Linked DNA regions of Homo sapiens: regions 2, 3, 4 and 5 are each linked to region 1. The links are contacts of gene promoters, found by promoter capture Hi-C in human tissues and cell types (Jung and others, 2019). All regions are on one chromosome and are shown on one strand. Each heading gives the region's core, a stretch centred on a gene start or on the middle of the fragment in contact. The rest is flanking DNA. Distances are from core to core; before and after follow the strand shown. Region 1 holds the start of SKA3 (spindle and kinetochore associated complex subunit 3). Region 2 overlaps LATS2 (large tumor suppressor kinase 2). Region 3 overlaps LINC00539 (long intergenic non-protein coding RNA 539). Region 4 overlaps LATS2 (large tumor suppressor kinase 2). Region 5 overlaps LINC00539 (long intergenic non-protein coding RNA 539).

The links. The method cuts DNA at HindIII sites, captures the fragments that hold promoters and counts their contacts. A contact is called where the count stands out against the background at its distance.
Region 2: a contact is called between a fragment that was not itself captured here and the fragment with the promoter of SKA3 in region 1, in 1 of the 25 tissues and cell types used here (H1 embryonic stem cells).
Region 3: a contact is called between a fragment that was not itself captured here and the fragment with the promoter of SKA3 in region 1, in 1 of the 25 tissues and cell types used here (spleen).
Region 4: a fragment that was not itself captured here is called in contact with the fragment with the promoter of SKA3 in region 1 in 1 of the 25 tissues and cell types used here (aorta).
Region 5: a contact is called between a fragment that was not itself captured here and the fragment with the promoter of SKA3 in region 1, in 2 of the 25 tissues and cell types used here (heart left ventricle and thymus).

What each region holds. Positions count from the first base shown.
Region 1 is chr13:21,175,178-21,177,947 of GRCh38, forward strand. SKA3 (spindle and kinetochore associated complex subunit 3) reads right to left here and starts at 1,375. Exons shown (of 9, transcript NM_145061.6): 1 at 1,198-1,375. The coding sequence starts at 1,300. It overlaps MRPL57 (mitochondrial ribosomal protein L57), which reads left to right and starts at 1,481. Exons shown (of 2, transcript NM_024026.5): 1 at 1,481-1,540; 2 at 1,735-2,770. The coding sequence starts at 1,740. The coding sequence ends at 2,048. RefSeq lists enhancers at 1-170, 893-1,615, 1,631-1,950. The HindIII fragment of the contact is 23,400 bases long and covers 1-2,770 here.
Region 2 is chr13:20,991,360-20,994,129 of GRCh38, forward strand. It overlaps LATS2 (large tumor suppressor kinase 2), which reads right to left. Exons shown (of 8, transcript NM_014572.3): 3 at 1-45. Among named protein-coding and RNA genes, the nearest start is that of LINC00367, 43 kb to the left of the region's middle. The HindIII fragment of the contact is 3,925 bases long and covers 1-2,770 here.
Region 3 is chr13:21,339,430-21,342,199 of GRCh38, forward strand. The region is part of intron 1 of LINC00539 (long intergenic non-protein coding RNA 539); the gene reads right to left. It also overlaps the pseudogene MIPEPP3. Among named protein-coding and RNA genes, the nearest start is that of LINC00539, 4.0 kb to the right of the region's middle. The HindIII fragment of the contact is 3,774 bases long and covers 1-2,770 here.
Region 4 is chr13:21,022,719-21,025,488 of GRCh38, forward strand. The region is part of intron 2 of LATS2 (large tumor suppressor kinase 2); the gene reads right to left. Among named protein-coding and RNA genes, the nearest start is that of LATS2, 37 kb to the right of the region's middle. The HindIII fragment of the contact is 5,572 bases long and covers 1-2,770 here.
Region 5 is chr13:21,305,161-21,307,930 of GRCh38, forward strand. The region is part of intron 2 of LINC00539 (long intergenic non-protein coding RNA 539); the gene reads right to left. It also overlaps the pseudogene MIPEPP3. Among named protein-coding and RNA genes, the nearest start is that of LINC00539, 38 kb to the right of the region's middle. The HindIII fragment of the contact is 3,239 bases long and covers 1-2,770 here.

The DNA.
Region 1 (2,770 bases), core at 125-2,624:
ACGTTGGCCAGGCTGGTCTTGAACTCCTGACCTCGGGCGATCCACCCACCTCGGCCTCCCAAAATGCTGGGATTACAGGCGTGTGCCACCGTGCACGGCCAAATCTTTTTTTCTTTTTGAGACGGACTCTTGCTCTGTCGCCGAGGCTGGAGTGCAGTGGCGGATCTCGGCTCACTGCAAGTTCCGCCTCCCGGGTTCACGCCATTCTCCTACCTCAGCCTCCCGAGTAGCTGGGACTACCGGCGCCCGCCACCACGCCCGGCTAATTTTTTGTATTTTTAGTAGAGACGGGGTTTCACCGTGTTAGCCAGAATGGTCTCGATCTCCTGACCTTGTGATCCGCCCGCCTCAGCCTCCCAAAGTGCTAGGATTACAGGCGTGAGCCACCGCGCCGGGCAGAAATAGACATTTTCAAGTGACTGGAGATCATTCATTATATAATTAAAGTAAAAGTAGTCTGCAGGGTGTAATATTTTAAAGCACATTACAATTATGACATTTATGAAATAATTCCAAAATCTGAACTACTTTTTCAACAATTTAAAAAATCTCTAATAAAAAGGGGAATGGTGAATTTTGCTTTATTTATATACACATATTTTTTTAAACCCCAGCACTGTTGAGTACTAGTGTTTGTGTTGGCAACATGGTTTAGCGGGAAAAACACAGAGGTTTACTGCAACTGTGGACCACGTGAGTGAGAAAAAAGTCACTATATGTGTAAAGTATTGTGTAAAGAACGTTAAATAGCTTGATTCTAAGAGAAACTGTTTAGGTTTACATGGTATTTTACTGACAAGCACACATATTGTATGTGACGAAAGCATATCACGTATAAATTAGTATATGTATTATGAGCTCAATCTGTTAATTTAGGTTCTTATTCTTAAGTGCTGCTGTCTCTGTTTATAACGTAATAGTGCTACTTTCATTATCTCAAGAGAGCCGTGGGGTTGTACATGGGTCTAAAACGGACACGCGACAAGGGTTCCTAGGAATAAACCATAAACAGGCCCGGGAGCTACGCTAACGCCAAACGCCGAGCAGTGAGACGCGCAGCACCCGCCCTGCGCCTCGGTGGCAGCCGTCCACGCCGTCAGTGCCTGGCGGTTCCCGTGGGACATACCGTCCACTCGCCACGCCCCTCCGCCCGCGGCGCACCCCACGCACCGTGCCCTGGCCGCCCGCCTCACGCACCGCTTTCCTCTCCGTCCAGCGCTCGCTGCAGCCGGGCCGTCTCGCAGTCCAGCGTGCTGGCCAGAGACCGCAGCTTCCCGCAGAAGCTCCGGATAGGGTCCATGCTGAGCACAGCGGGGAAGGACTCCAGGCGTACGCAGACCCCACCGCTCAGCTCACAGCCTCCCGCCACTAGTTTGAATCTCGGCGCCGGACGCGTCCTCGGCTCTGCGCAGGCGCAGTCCTCTCTCGCGAGAGCCGAAGTCTCTCGCCGAGGCCCCAGGAGACCCCGCGAGACGGGTGCGCTTACGCCACGGCGTCTGCTGGCGGCCGCGGAGACGCAGAGTCTTGAGCAGCGCGGCAGGTGAGTAGCTGTGCGAATTCGGTTCTCTAGGGAGCTCCTTCTTCGCCTGCTGGCCTTACCTGGGCTCCCCGCTTCTCTGGAGGGGAGGCGGTGCGGGAACTCCCGTAGGCGTGAGCTGGAGCGCGCGCCCGCTGCTCTCTCCAGGTCCGGCCGCGCCAGTTCGCCTCCGCAAAGCCCGTCCCTCTCTTCCGCAGGCACCATGTTCCTGACTGCGCTCCTCTGGCGCGGCCGCATTCCCGGCCGTCAGTGGATCGGGAAGCACCGGCGGCCGCGGTTCGTGTCGTTGCGCGCCAAGCAGAACATGATCCGCCGCCTGGAGATCGAGGCGGAGAACCATTACTGGCTGAGCATGCCCTACATGACCCGGGAGCAGGAGCGCGGCCACGCCGCGGTGCGCAGGAGGGAGGCCTTCGAGGCCATAAAGGCGGCCGCCACTTCCAAGTTCCCCCCGCATAGATTCATTGCGGACCAGCTCGACCATCTCAATGTCACCAAGAAATGGTCCTAATCCTGAGTCGTCACCCTTGGATTTTATGGATCACGGAGCTGACCATCTTTACCTGGTCCTGGAACTGAAAAACTGTAGCTTGTGTGAAAATGAGCCTTTGGACCAGTCTTTATTAAAACAAACAAACATGAGTAGTCTGCATATCGAATATCTAGAGCTCTAAACCCCCAATACTTAAAAGTCTAATTGCTGTCCTGTGGTTTCATTAGTCTGATAGGAAGATAGGGATTTCCTCAGTCACAGATGATATTTTGAAGGAAAGCTGCAATAAAGCCACAATGATTTGAGGTCTTTGCTTAAGTATGAGATACTTGATGGGGGCTTTATCATGCAACATTAGTTTGCTTACCTTAAGAATTGCCCAAAAATGAAAGAAAATATGAGCTTTTCAGTTAAACATACTCCTAAAAACATTTTCCGGGATTTTACTACTAAAATTGGACATTTAAGCGAAGTAAAAGAGGCCGGGTGCGGTGGCTCACGCCTGTAATCCCAACACTTTAGGAGTCCAAGGCGGGCGGATCACTTGAGGTCAGGAGTTCAAGACCAGCTTGGCCAAGGTGATAAAACCCGTCTCTACTAATACAAAAAAAATTAGCTGGGTATGTTGGTGCAGGCTTGCAATCCCAGCTACTTGGGACGCTGAGGTGGGAGGATCGCCTGAACCTCAGAGGCAGAGGTTGCAATGAAGCGGAGGTTGCAGTGAGCCGAGAGCATGCCGC
Region 2 (2,770 bases), core at 117-2,616, 180 kb before region 1:
GATGCTCCTGCTGCCAGTCTGCTTGAGAGCTCGGCCAGCCATCTCCTGGGAGGGAAGTAAAGGAGAGGTAAGTGCATGTCATCCTAAAACAAAGCCACCAAAGACTCCCATCCCCACTCCGTGCTGGACTGTGCTGGGACACTTCGCCTCTGTACTGCTGAGAACCTGCGATATGCTGCAGGAGACCCTCAGAATGAGTGCAGGTGGCTGTGTGCCCTGCAGGTACCTGATGGCAAAAGCCTAGCACAAGCCACACCATAGACTATTTAGCCTTATGTCAAGGACATATGGGAATTTTGATGATGGGCCTGAAAGAGACTTAAATTCTGCTTCTCCTCAGAAAACTTTTGTGGTTGGACTGGTGAGTTCAGGATGAACCTAAAACTAGAAACATTTAAGGGGAAGAACTGTGGGAGTCAGGGAACCTGGCTTTAACCTCAGCTCACCTCCAGGCTAACTCTGGGACTAGGAAACCTGTCCCCAGGGAGAGGGTGCAGCTGCCGAAGAGTCATATATTACACGCCTACTGTTTACAATGCCCCATGCTGGCTATAGCAGCGGAGGACTGGCCCTTAGAGATCTGACTCGTAGAAGAAAGAAAGGAGACAAAACAGGGGCCCATGGAGCCACACCGGTCCAGGACAGGTAGCTCAAACTGCTTGTGGGAAGAACACAGGGACTGGTGGCCACCACGGGAGAGGGCAGGTAAAATGGATGAGGGCCACAGGAGAAAGCCTCCTTCCACCCGAAAGATGAGGTGGTGGCATGGCTAGCTGTTCCAGACTTTGGGCAGGTGGAGAGCCCTGGGAGAGAAAAGGCATTCCTGGCAGATGGGACAGCCAGAGCAGAAGCCTGGGGAAAGATGGGCCCATGGCAGCAGCACGCAAGGGTAGGTGGAGATGGGGGGATGGACCCACAGATGGGGGCCAGGCTCTCCAGGGTTTTGCTCCTGTCTGCAGGCATTCGAGGAAGCTTTCAAACTGGGACATACGGCATCAGCAGGTCAGGCTGGGGGCGGCTGTGGGTGCAGAGCTGGAGGCACTCAGATGGGGGAGACAGAATAGGCAGGAGGGTACCGAAGAGATGCAGCCCAGTGGCGCGGGGCGGTGAGGCTCTGATGAAGGCGCCCCCTTCACCTTTCAGGACAGCTCCGCAGAGCTGTAGGCAAACAGGGAGGGTGAGCAGAGAGAAAAGAACACCGTTGAGGCTGGCTGTGGGACAAGGGCAAAAACAGGCAAAGGCCACAAAAAGGGCTTCAGCAGAAGAAGAAAGGCTGAGCACTCTGAAGGTCAACGAGGAGGGCAACCAGGCAGGAGGAAACTGAAAATGTAGAACGGGGAGCTCCGGAAAGGAGTCCACAGTTACCCAGACAGCAGAGAAGAAAGGGGTGGAGATGGCTGGGCGTGGTGGCTCACGCCTGTAATCCCAGCACTTTGGGAGGCCGAGGCAGGTGGATCAAGAGGTCAAGAGATCGAGACCATCCTGGCCAACATGGTGAAATCCCGTCTCTGCTAAAAATACAAAAATTAGCTGGGTATGGTGGTGTGTGCCTGTAGTTCCAGCTACTCAGGAGGCTGAGGCAGGTGAATTGCTTGAAACCTGGGAGGTGGAGGCTGCAGTGAGCCGAGATCACGCCACTGCACTCCAGCCTGGCGACAAAGTGTGACTCCATCTCCAAAAAAAAAAAAAAAAAAAAAAAAAATGGGGGGGTGGAGATACAGAAAGACCCCGGACAGTGGGGGAGGCCGTGCAGGGCTGCTCTGCAGCAGGAAGCCTGGCCATGGTCACAGAGCCACTCCGCAGAGAGAGATGCAGCACTGAGTGTCCCCCACCTCTGGATAGGGCATTGTGGTGCCCATGATCTGAATCGCACTCAGCTGTGTGTCTGTGGTTCCCTTAGGACAAGAAGAACCTGGCAGGGCCTGAATCCATGTTACTCATGGTTGCTTCTGCCCCCTTAACACAGTGCCTAGAACAAATTAAGCACTTATTGTCCATATATGATGGTCTAATACTGAATCAAGCTTTCCAGTCCTGGCCATATGCCAGCAGAATGGCAGCACAAAAAACACAGGCTGTAAACTGTGTTCTTAGCAATGCAGGCGTGGGCATGGCAAGATGGCAGGGACAGGCAAGGGGCTGCAGAGGAGCACGAGGTGGAAGGCCTGGGGAGGTGCCGCCACATGGGCAGGCCATGTTGCCTGCCCATGTGGGACATGGGACATGAAGTGACAGATTGGAAAATGGTAATAAGAACAGACCTGTTTGTTAAAGTGGCGCCTGGACTACCAGAAAGGGCAAGTGTTTACAACCTGGAAGAGTTGCAGAGAGAAGGCAGCGGTGGTTCAGAAGGGAAGTGCTTCCTGACCCCACCTGGGACAGGAGATAAGACTCCCACCACCGCCTACTTCGGGAGCTATGCGATGAGATCACGTCTACGAAGACTCAACAGCTTGGAGGAAGACACGATATAAGACCACATCTTTGTGGGATCACCCTGGAGCTTTTGGCGCCCATTAAAAAAATGTGCCAATTGGGGCTGACTCTAACCACAAGCCTTTCCATCAGCACTAACCGTTCAATTGCTTCATCTGAAACGTGACCAACGCTCTGTCTCCTGCAGGGTGAATCACCAGCCTGTGCTCATTAACCCAGTACCTGTTGACTGCCAAGGAAGGGACAGCTCCAGGACAGACTAGGTCAATGTGGATGTTCTCAAATTCCCTCCCTGTTTATGGAGCACCCACTACTCAAGATGTGTATGTTTATT
Region 3 (2,770 bases), core at 136-2,635, 160 kb after region 1:
TGCTCCCATTTTCCCTCCTCACCCTCCCCGCCCCATCCTCATTCTTCAGGTATGTGCCCACTCTCGCAGACTTGTGAAGGAACTGGCTGAGTACGTGGACCAGTACTCAATACCATGTACAGGTGAGAGCAGTGGCCAGTGACTTTGACAGCGTGCCCATTCCCAGCACCTTCCAAAAGTATCCATCCATCAGTGTTCCAACTCCTGGCCAGGCTCCTTGCCCCTGTGGACCCATTTCCATATGAGAGCTCTAGATCTTTTTCGACAAGAAAATCCGTGGCCCCACCCCACCCCAAAGACAGTGCTATGACTTTTAGAAGAAAATATTCTATTTGTGAGACAGAGTCGAGGCTCTGAAGCCAGAACAGATCTGACCCCTGGCTTTGCCTGCCCCTCACTGCCTGTCCTCTAACCCTTGGTTTTCTCATCTGTGTTGTGGGGATGAACATGAGGTCAACCTCACGGTTTGTGTGAAGGACTGAGTGAAATCACACCTACGAAGCAGTGGACCTGAGCTACCCCAATAAACGGAACCAAATGTTTGCCTTGTCAAACCTGCGGGCAGGTAGGGCATGTTCTATCATCAAAGGGATAAGATGTGCAAATGGAAGCCCAAGGAGTGGCCTGTCTGGAGGCAGAGGGAGCTCCGGCCATACCAAGAAAGGAAGGAGGACGCCTCCAGTCCCACCTCCTCAGCGTCCCCGTTTCTATTCTGTCAGCCTCGGTTCTTTGGTAGGTTTGGAAGATGCAGAGAGGGAAGAGTTATCTTTATGGCTCACATAGACCTGGCTGCATGCACAAATCCCAAAATAAAATCATTCCTCAGAGTTTGCCCTAACTGTCATTTTCTAGGTGAAGAAGTTAGGCCCAGAGAGGTTAAGTGACATGCCTGGGGTCACACAGGTGCGTAACAGCCTGTTCCCTCTATGCCCACCTCTGTGCCCCGAGGTGCTGTCCCTTTTTTGATTCAGAGACGTTTGCTCTAGGTTGTTCTTGGTTCACTCTTTTGCAGAATCCTGGAATCAGGGGAGCTCTGGGACCTTGTAGTCCAAGGCCCCTCTGGGGGCAAGAAGCCCCTCTGGAGCCCCACCTGACCCAAGCTTCTCCTGCCTTCTCCTGAATCGATGGCTTTGCCTGGCCAAGCCTTGTCCCTATTTTCCACAGCTCTGGCTATCCAGTGACTGTCCTTTTCCTCAAGCCTAAAAGGGTCTCTCCTTCAATTCCACCCAGTAGCACTGAGGCTTGGAAGAGGCTCCAGAGAGGGCTATGGTCAGAGCAGGTGGGACCAGGGTTTAGCTCATCCTGGATGCATGTAGCCCAGCAAGGGAATATCCAAACCTTGGGGACTGCGTGTCCAAGAAGTTCCTACTGCAGCATAGCAAAGCCAACCTTCCCAAGTGTCCCCAGTGGCCCAGAATCACAGCCAACCAACCCCCCTCCCCTGACAACTGTGTCAACTGTGCTGACTTCACCCCCAAACTCTAGTTCTGGAGTTTCCAAGGCAGGACAGAGTGTGCTAGCCTCCGGCTGGAGTCCATGTTTCAGATATCCAACTGCATCTCTATTAAATCCAGCCTGGAGTACTCATCCTATGTCCCAGCCCTAGAGGGGAGGACGGCAGCAAATTCCGAGAGGATTTTCCTCACCAGAGCTTACAGGAGAACAGACATTCAAGGCTGCTCAAGAAGCAGGTGGCTGCTGTTGTTGTTTTTTGTTTTTTTGTTTTGTTTTGAGACAGAGCCTTGTTCTGTTGTCCAGGCTGGAGTGCAGTGGCGCCATCTCAGCTCACTGCAACCTCTGCCTCCTGGGTTCAAGCGATTCTCCTTCCTCAGCCTCCTGAGTAGCTGGGATCACAGGCGCCCGCCAACACCCCTGGCTAATTTTGGTATTTTAGTAGAGACGGGGTTTCACCGTGTTGGCCAGGCTGGTCTCGAACTCCTGACCTCAAGTGGTCTGTCTGTCTCGGCCTCCCAAAGTGCTGGGATTACAGGCATGAGCCACCGCACCTGGCCCGCCTGCTGTTGTTTGACAATGTTGGGTATTCTTAGGGATCCAACTCTAGTTTTTAGGAAATGAACACAAATATTCATTTTTCACAACAGCCAACAATTATTTCCTTTATAAGTTCACATTCACAACCATTTTCCCACTCTAAAATTGGCACAAATTTGAAAAGCATGATATATAAAACCGGTGAGGATATTGTGAGGTAAACACTCTCATTCACTGATGACGTGAATTTAAACGAGAACAAGCTTTTTAAACAGCAATGGCAAAATGCATTCAGAGTTTAAAGCATCTATTCCATTTGGCTCAATTCTATACATGCACGGAAACAAAGCAAAAAACAAGGAAAATGCAACCCCCGCCCCCTCCCAAATCAAAGAACAAACAGGAGCTTTTTCAGGCCTCAAGTGAAGCAAGGCACGAGTCTCTCTGAGGAATCCCCGCCCATAAGACCTGGGAAGGTCACAGCCTTCACGCTGGCTCAAGGGGTTCTCCCCAGCAGGAACCCAGGCTGCTCCTCCCGGGACTGTGGCTGACAGGTAGGGAGCGCTCATAAGTCATAGCGGATATTATCACTACAGGGGTCCCTAACATCTCAGTGAACCCCCACTGTCAGGGAAACTGAGAAACTGTGAATGCAGCCCCAAAGCCTGTGAGAGACCACGTGTGGGCTCAGAGCCTCCCCGTCACCTCAGAAGGCCAGGGAGCCCAGAGGCCAAGCAGGGACTTCGGCAGGACCCGTCCAGTGGACCCCAAGTCGCCC
Region 4 (2,770 bases), core at 163-2,662, 150 kb before region 1:
CACACACAAGGCCAATTTAGATATGAGAGTGGGGATTTATGTGTTTTTATAATACTGGAGTGGGTATAAACAGAGCTATCCACCCTGCGAGAGAATAAAAGATCCTCATTATGTTCATAAAGGGATTTTGCAGATTATTTCCTGCTTTAAAGGAAATAATCATGTTTCCTAGAACACATCTATAATCTTCATCATATACAAATAAGCAATAGACTCCCCTTCTTCACTCTCCAGCTGGACGCTTGGGCAAGGGTGTTTTGATTTTCTCTGATTAGCCAGGAAAGGGGGTGTGGGGGAAGCCACCCTCACCCTCTAGTCCAGCCCAGCAATCCCACTGCATGCACCTGCAGAGCCCCAGGGGGGCAGTGTCGCTCGAGCCGGGGACTCCTTTCCAAAGATCGCTCCCGGCATCCATAGCGCTGCATCGAGGGCTCCGGGCTCCGAGGGCTCCGAAGGCCGGGGAGTGGGACCAGCTCCCACACAGGAGACGCAGCTCAGGGCTTCTACATTTCTAGGAATGCTAAAAACCCAATTTTCTTAATTCCTTTTTTTTTTTCTTTTTAGAGATAGGGTCTCACTACGTCCCATCCTCCTGCCTCAGTCTCCTGACACACTGGGACCACAGGCGCTCGCCCCCTCTCCAGGCCCAATTTTCAGTGTGAAAGCTCTTGGTTCTTAAAAGTTGGAAAGACATTTTTAAAAAACTTGTAAGACACCGTGTGGGTAGAATAGAACCCAACTGCAAGTACACGGACCCCTGCACTTCCCGTCCTTGGCCTCTGTTCTCGAGGCGGGGCCAGGACTCTCCACGCTGCCGGAGAGCCCAGACAGTGTCTGAGATTGATGGTCAATAACACAGCAAGGTCTTAGGATTTCAAAAGGATGGGAGGGAGGTCCACCAAATGACACATTTTCTATGACTGGCTTTAAAAAAAAAAAAAAAAAAAAAAAAAAAAAAAAAAAAACAAACCTCGGCCGGGCGCAGTGGCTGACGCCTGTAATTCCAGCACTTTGGGAGGCTGAGCCGCGTGGATCACCTGAGGTCGGGAATTCAAGACCAGCCTGACCAACCTGGAGAAACCCCGTCTCTACTAAAAATACAAAATTAGCTGGGCATGGTGGCGCATGCCTATAATTTCAGCTATTCAGGAGGCTGAGGCAGGAGAATCGCTTGAACCCAGGAGGCAGAGGTAGCAGGGAGACGAGATCGCACCATTGCACTCCAGCCTGGGCAACAAGAGTGAAACTCCCTCTCAAGAAAAAACAAAACAAAACACAACTCAGGGGGCTTTGGAAAACAAGCAGGCATCCTCGGGAAGGGCCCCCCAGGGAGTTTACAGACCTTCCCCAGAAAGGTTAAAGTGTCTCGCTGTGCAAAAAAAAAAAAAAAAAAAAAAGAAAAAGAAAAAACAGCTTGAAAAATAACAGGAATGGGCCGGGCATAGTGGCTCACACTTGTAATCCAGACACTTTGGGAGGCTGAGGGGGAGGGATCACTTGAGGTCAGGAGTTCAAGACCAGCCTGGCCAACATGGTGAAACCCATCTCTACTAAAAATAAAAAAAAATTAGCTGGGTGTGGTAGCACATGCCTGGTAATCCCAACTACTGAGGAGACTGAGGCAGGAGAATTGTTTGAACCTGGGAGGCGGAGGTTGCAGTGAGCCGAGATCGCGCCACTGTACCCCAGCCTGGGCGACAGAGTGAGACTCTGAATGATAATAATAATAAATGATAATAAATAATATAAAAGTTAACCCTTTTTAGGTTGGCTGGACTTTCAGTGGGGTTCAGTGGCGGTTCTCGCCAGGGCATATCTAAAAGTTGAGTATGGCCCTGCGGGAGCTCTTCCTGCATAGCGCCTCACGGATGACATCTCACTTTGACGGTCATCACTGACCAGCACCGTGCTGTCCCACAGAAATGTAACTCGAGCCACATGTGGAATTTTCCATTGTCTTATACCCACATTAAAAAAAAAAAAAAAAGTACTGATGTTAAAAGATGTATATTTCAACCCAATACATCCAAATATTAACATTTCAACAAGTAAGCAATGTTAGAAATACTGACATTTTATATTCTCTTTTTTGCACTATGTCTTCCAAATCGGGTGTGTATCCTATACTCACTGCACACCTCAATTGAGATGAGCCCCATCTCAAGGCCTCCAAAGCCACGCATGGCCTGGGGCTGTCCCCACAGGCTCAGCCAGGCCCAGAGACACGCACATTTATGTACAGCCCTGCAGACCAGGCTTCCCCCATAACTTTTTGCCTGGTTTTGTTTTTTGATTCATTGATTTTTATATATTTAACAGGTTACTATCAATTATAATCAGTATTCCTTTATGGCTGATCTACTACTTGCTACTCCCATGAAGTCTGTAAGACACCTTTAATGAGGTATAATTTATGGTCACGGGGCCAGGTGCGGTGGCTCACCTGAGGTCAGGAGCTCGAGACCAGCTTGGCCAACATGGCGAAACCCCGTCTCTACTAAAAAAAAAAAAAAAAATACAAAAATTAGACGGGTATGGTGGCAAGCACCTATAATCCCAGCTACTAGGGAGGCTGAGGCAGGAGAATCGCTTGAACCCGGGAGGCAGAGGTTGCAATGAGCCAAGATCATGCCACTGCACTCCAGCCTGGGCGACAAGAGTGAGACTCCGTCTCCAAAAAAAAAAAAAAAAAAAAATTATGGTCATGAGTGAGGAAGAGTTTCTGGTTGGCACCTGAGGGGGTCGGACACGGACATGGGATCATTTTCTG
Region 5 (2,770 bases), core at 130-2,629, 130 kb after region 1:
TACCAGTAATGTTGGTACTATTATAAGGCAATCGTCTTATAAACTTTTTCACTAAATAGTCATTTTGTTTTCTTTGTTTTCAACACAGTTTTTACGTAACAGAACTGTTTTCCTCATCACTATTAGAAATCAGTTGTTAATGTGCATGCTAGTGTTTTGAATTTTAATATTGATTATAAATTCACATGTAGATTAGTAATTTGTAAAAAAAAAAATGTAAATTTATGTAACTCATTTTTCAGATACTTTGGTACTAATGTTATTTTATCGTTACCAATTCTTACAACAAATATACCAAACTATGGATTTAAATGTTTTGGCATTAAAAACTATTTGATAATAAAATCAGGAAATTTTACCTTGTGGTGATTTTATTTCATGTTATAGTCACACATCTTCTTGGCAAATAAAATATGTAGTGTTTTGTAGTTTCTCTGCTTTTTGTTACAATTGACATGAAAACGAAAATTTAGTTTTACATCATTTTATCTTTTTAAAAAAATTGTTGCTCATTTTAATTTCTAATGACTTAAGTAGCAGCAGCAGTAGTAGTTGTACACAGTATTACATGGAGACTGAACTCATATTTTATTAAAAGGACTAAAGAGACTGTGCCTTTGTTTTCTGCACAAAGACTAGAATGTAGTTAAAGACTAAAGTGTAGTTAAATGAGTTTTGAAACTATACTATGTGTCAGTTAAAGAAAACAAGCCTCTAAGAGTTGTTTTTTGGAGCTAGGTTAACCTGTGAGAACCATACTGCAAAGAATTTTAGCCAGAAAGTTGTAGAATATTTGAAACCAGTGTCTGCTCTTTTGATTTAATAAAGGGTTAGGAAGAATTTGCTTGGTGTTTATATTTGAAGGAGAAAAACTTTTCTGAAACAAAGTTAATAAAATTATTTTTTTTGGAAAGAAACAAACTTGGTTTCAAGGAATAACAGAATTAAATAAATGTTCAGAAAGCAGCTGCTTTGCTTTACTCGCTTAGGAAAAAGTCAGTAATGGAAATGCATAGGCCAAGCCAATGGCACATCTTAAAACCCAGTTTTCATTTTCACCCCCAGATCCTGGAAGAAAGCTTCCCATCAAATTCCCTTTTGGTTTCGTCTTTCCCCTTTATTAGGCTGATTTTGTGAAAATCGCTCACCCTGAGCCAGCATTCAGGGAAGTCGCAGAAGAAGCTTGTAGAAGTATTGGCACCATGGTAGAGAAGTATGTGCTGTTCCCCTCCCCACCTCCGTGCCAAGTCCTGGGTGATCCGGTTTCATGGACTTGTGCCGTAGGCAGTTTTGTCCATAGTGCTTGTCCCCCGCCCAGCAGGGTGGGAGGTGTGTGTGACCAGGGGTGGCCGGAGGGAGGTCTCAGGACAGGCCATTGGCTCACCTTGCAGGCAGGCACTGGGCCTCAGGGCTGGTTGTCTGTTCTCTCAGTCATTTCCTTCTCTGTAAATGGGGTCATAAAGTTAACCCTGCCTCAGGGTCCTTGTGAGTGTTAAATGAGATCAATGTAAAGGTGTCACTTGATAATCTGAGATGACAGACACCCAGGATTCTTGTCATCACCATTATCACTTACCTTAAATAAGGGCTTTTTAGTGTCCTAGTGGCAAGTTGGACTTACTAGATTATCGCTTGATTAAATTGCTGTTGCATCAATGGCTGTGGGCCACGGGGCGAGAAGCCAAAACGCTCTATAAACAGTGTCCTTGTGGTCCCTGTTGAGTTGGAATTAGGGGAGTCTAGGGAGGCTGTGAAAGTCTGTGGGAGAGCTGGAGCAGGCTCTGGCTGAGGCTGTGATGGAGTGAATTATTTTAAAGTGATTTTGGGGTAAATGTGAGTGTTTTTAAGCCACTTATAAGAGCTCCATAGTGCTTGTTAAAATAACTGAATGGTGGACAGCGCTGTATTCCAACACACTTAGCTGCATGGCACCATGCCAGGCAGTGTATAGAGCTAGGGAGAGCCCTGGGCTCGCCAGCGTGGATTTACAACAGGGAAAAGGGGGTAACACGATAAGACAATTTCATATGCCAGAAATTGTTGGAGGAGGAGAGTGATGGCTTCTCTGGTTAGACGAGGCTTCCTTGGAAGACCCAACGCTTCAGGATGTGCAGCTGCTGCTTTTCCCCAGGTCGCCAACATTTGTTCACTTTGGCACAATCGTGTGTGACTTTCCCCATAGCCGCTGAAAACCAACTTGCGTAATGGGACAGAACGGGGCCCTGCAGAGTGCAGACACTGGGCATGCTGACAGGGCTGAAAGTGGGGACTCCCTGGGAGAAAGCTTTGCCTCTCGGGGAAAGGCCCCTGGGAAGGAGTCAGCAGTGGGCTGCCTGCTCGAGGCTCTCTGCATGCTGTGTCCTGCCGAATTAGACGTGGGCTGGTCTCATGGACAAGCACTCTTCATTTTGTGGGAGGACAAATACAGACTGAAGTATGGGCTTTATCTCAGGGTCTTCCAACATAAAACATACTACTGGGAGATTTCCTTAAACCTCTGCAGTGGGGGCAGTGCGGGCAGCCTCTGAGCTACTGTTCCTTTGCCATGGAGTGGCTCCGTGGGTGAGCAGGTTGGGAGGAGGTAGGCCTCCACACTCACTCTCTCCCTGACTTCTGGGATCCATGTGTGGGAGTCTGGCCCTTCTTGGTGAGTGTTTTTTGATGGGTAATGACTATCTACGTTTCACTAGCATTCGGGAAGGCCCATGTGAATGGTAACAGAAACCCTTCGATTGATGTAAATCTTCAGTGTTTTTATCTTGAACCAACT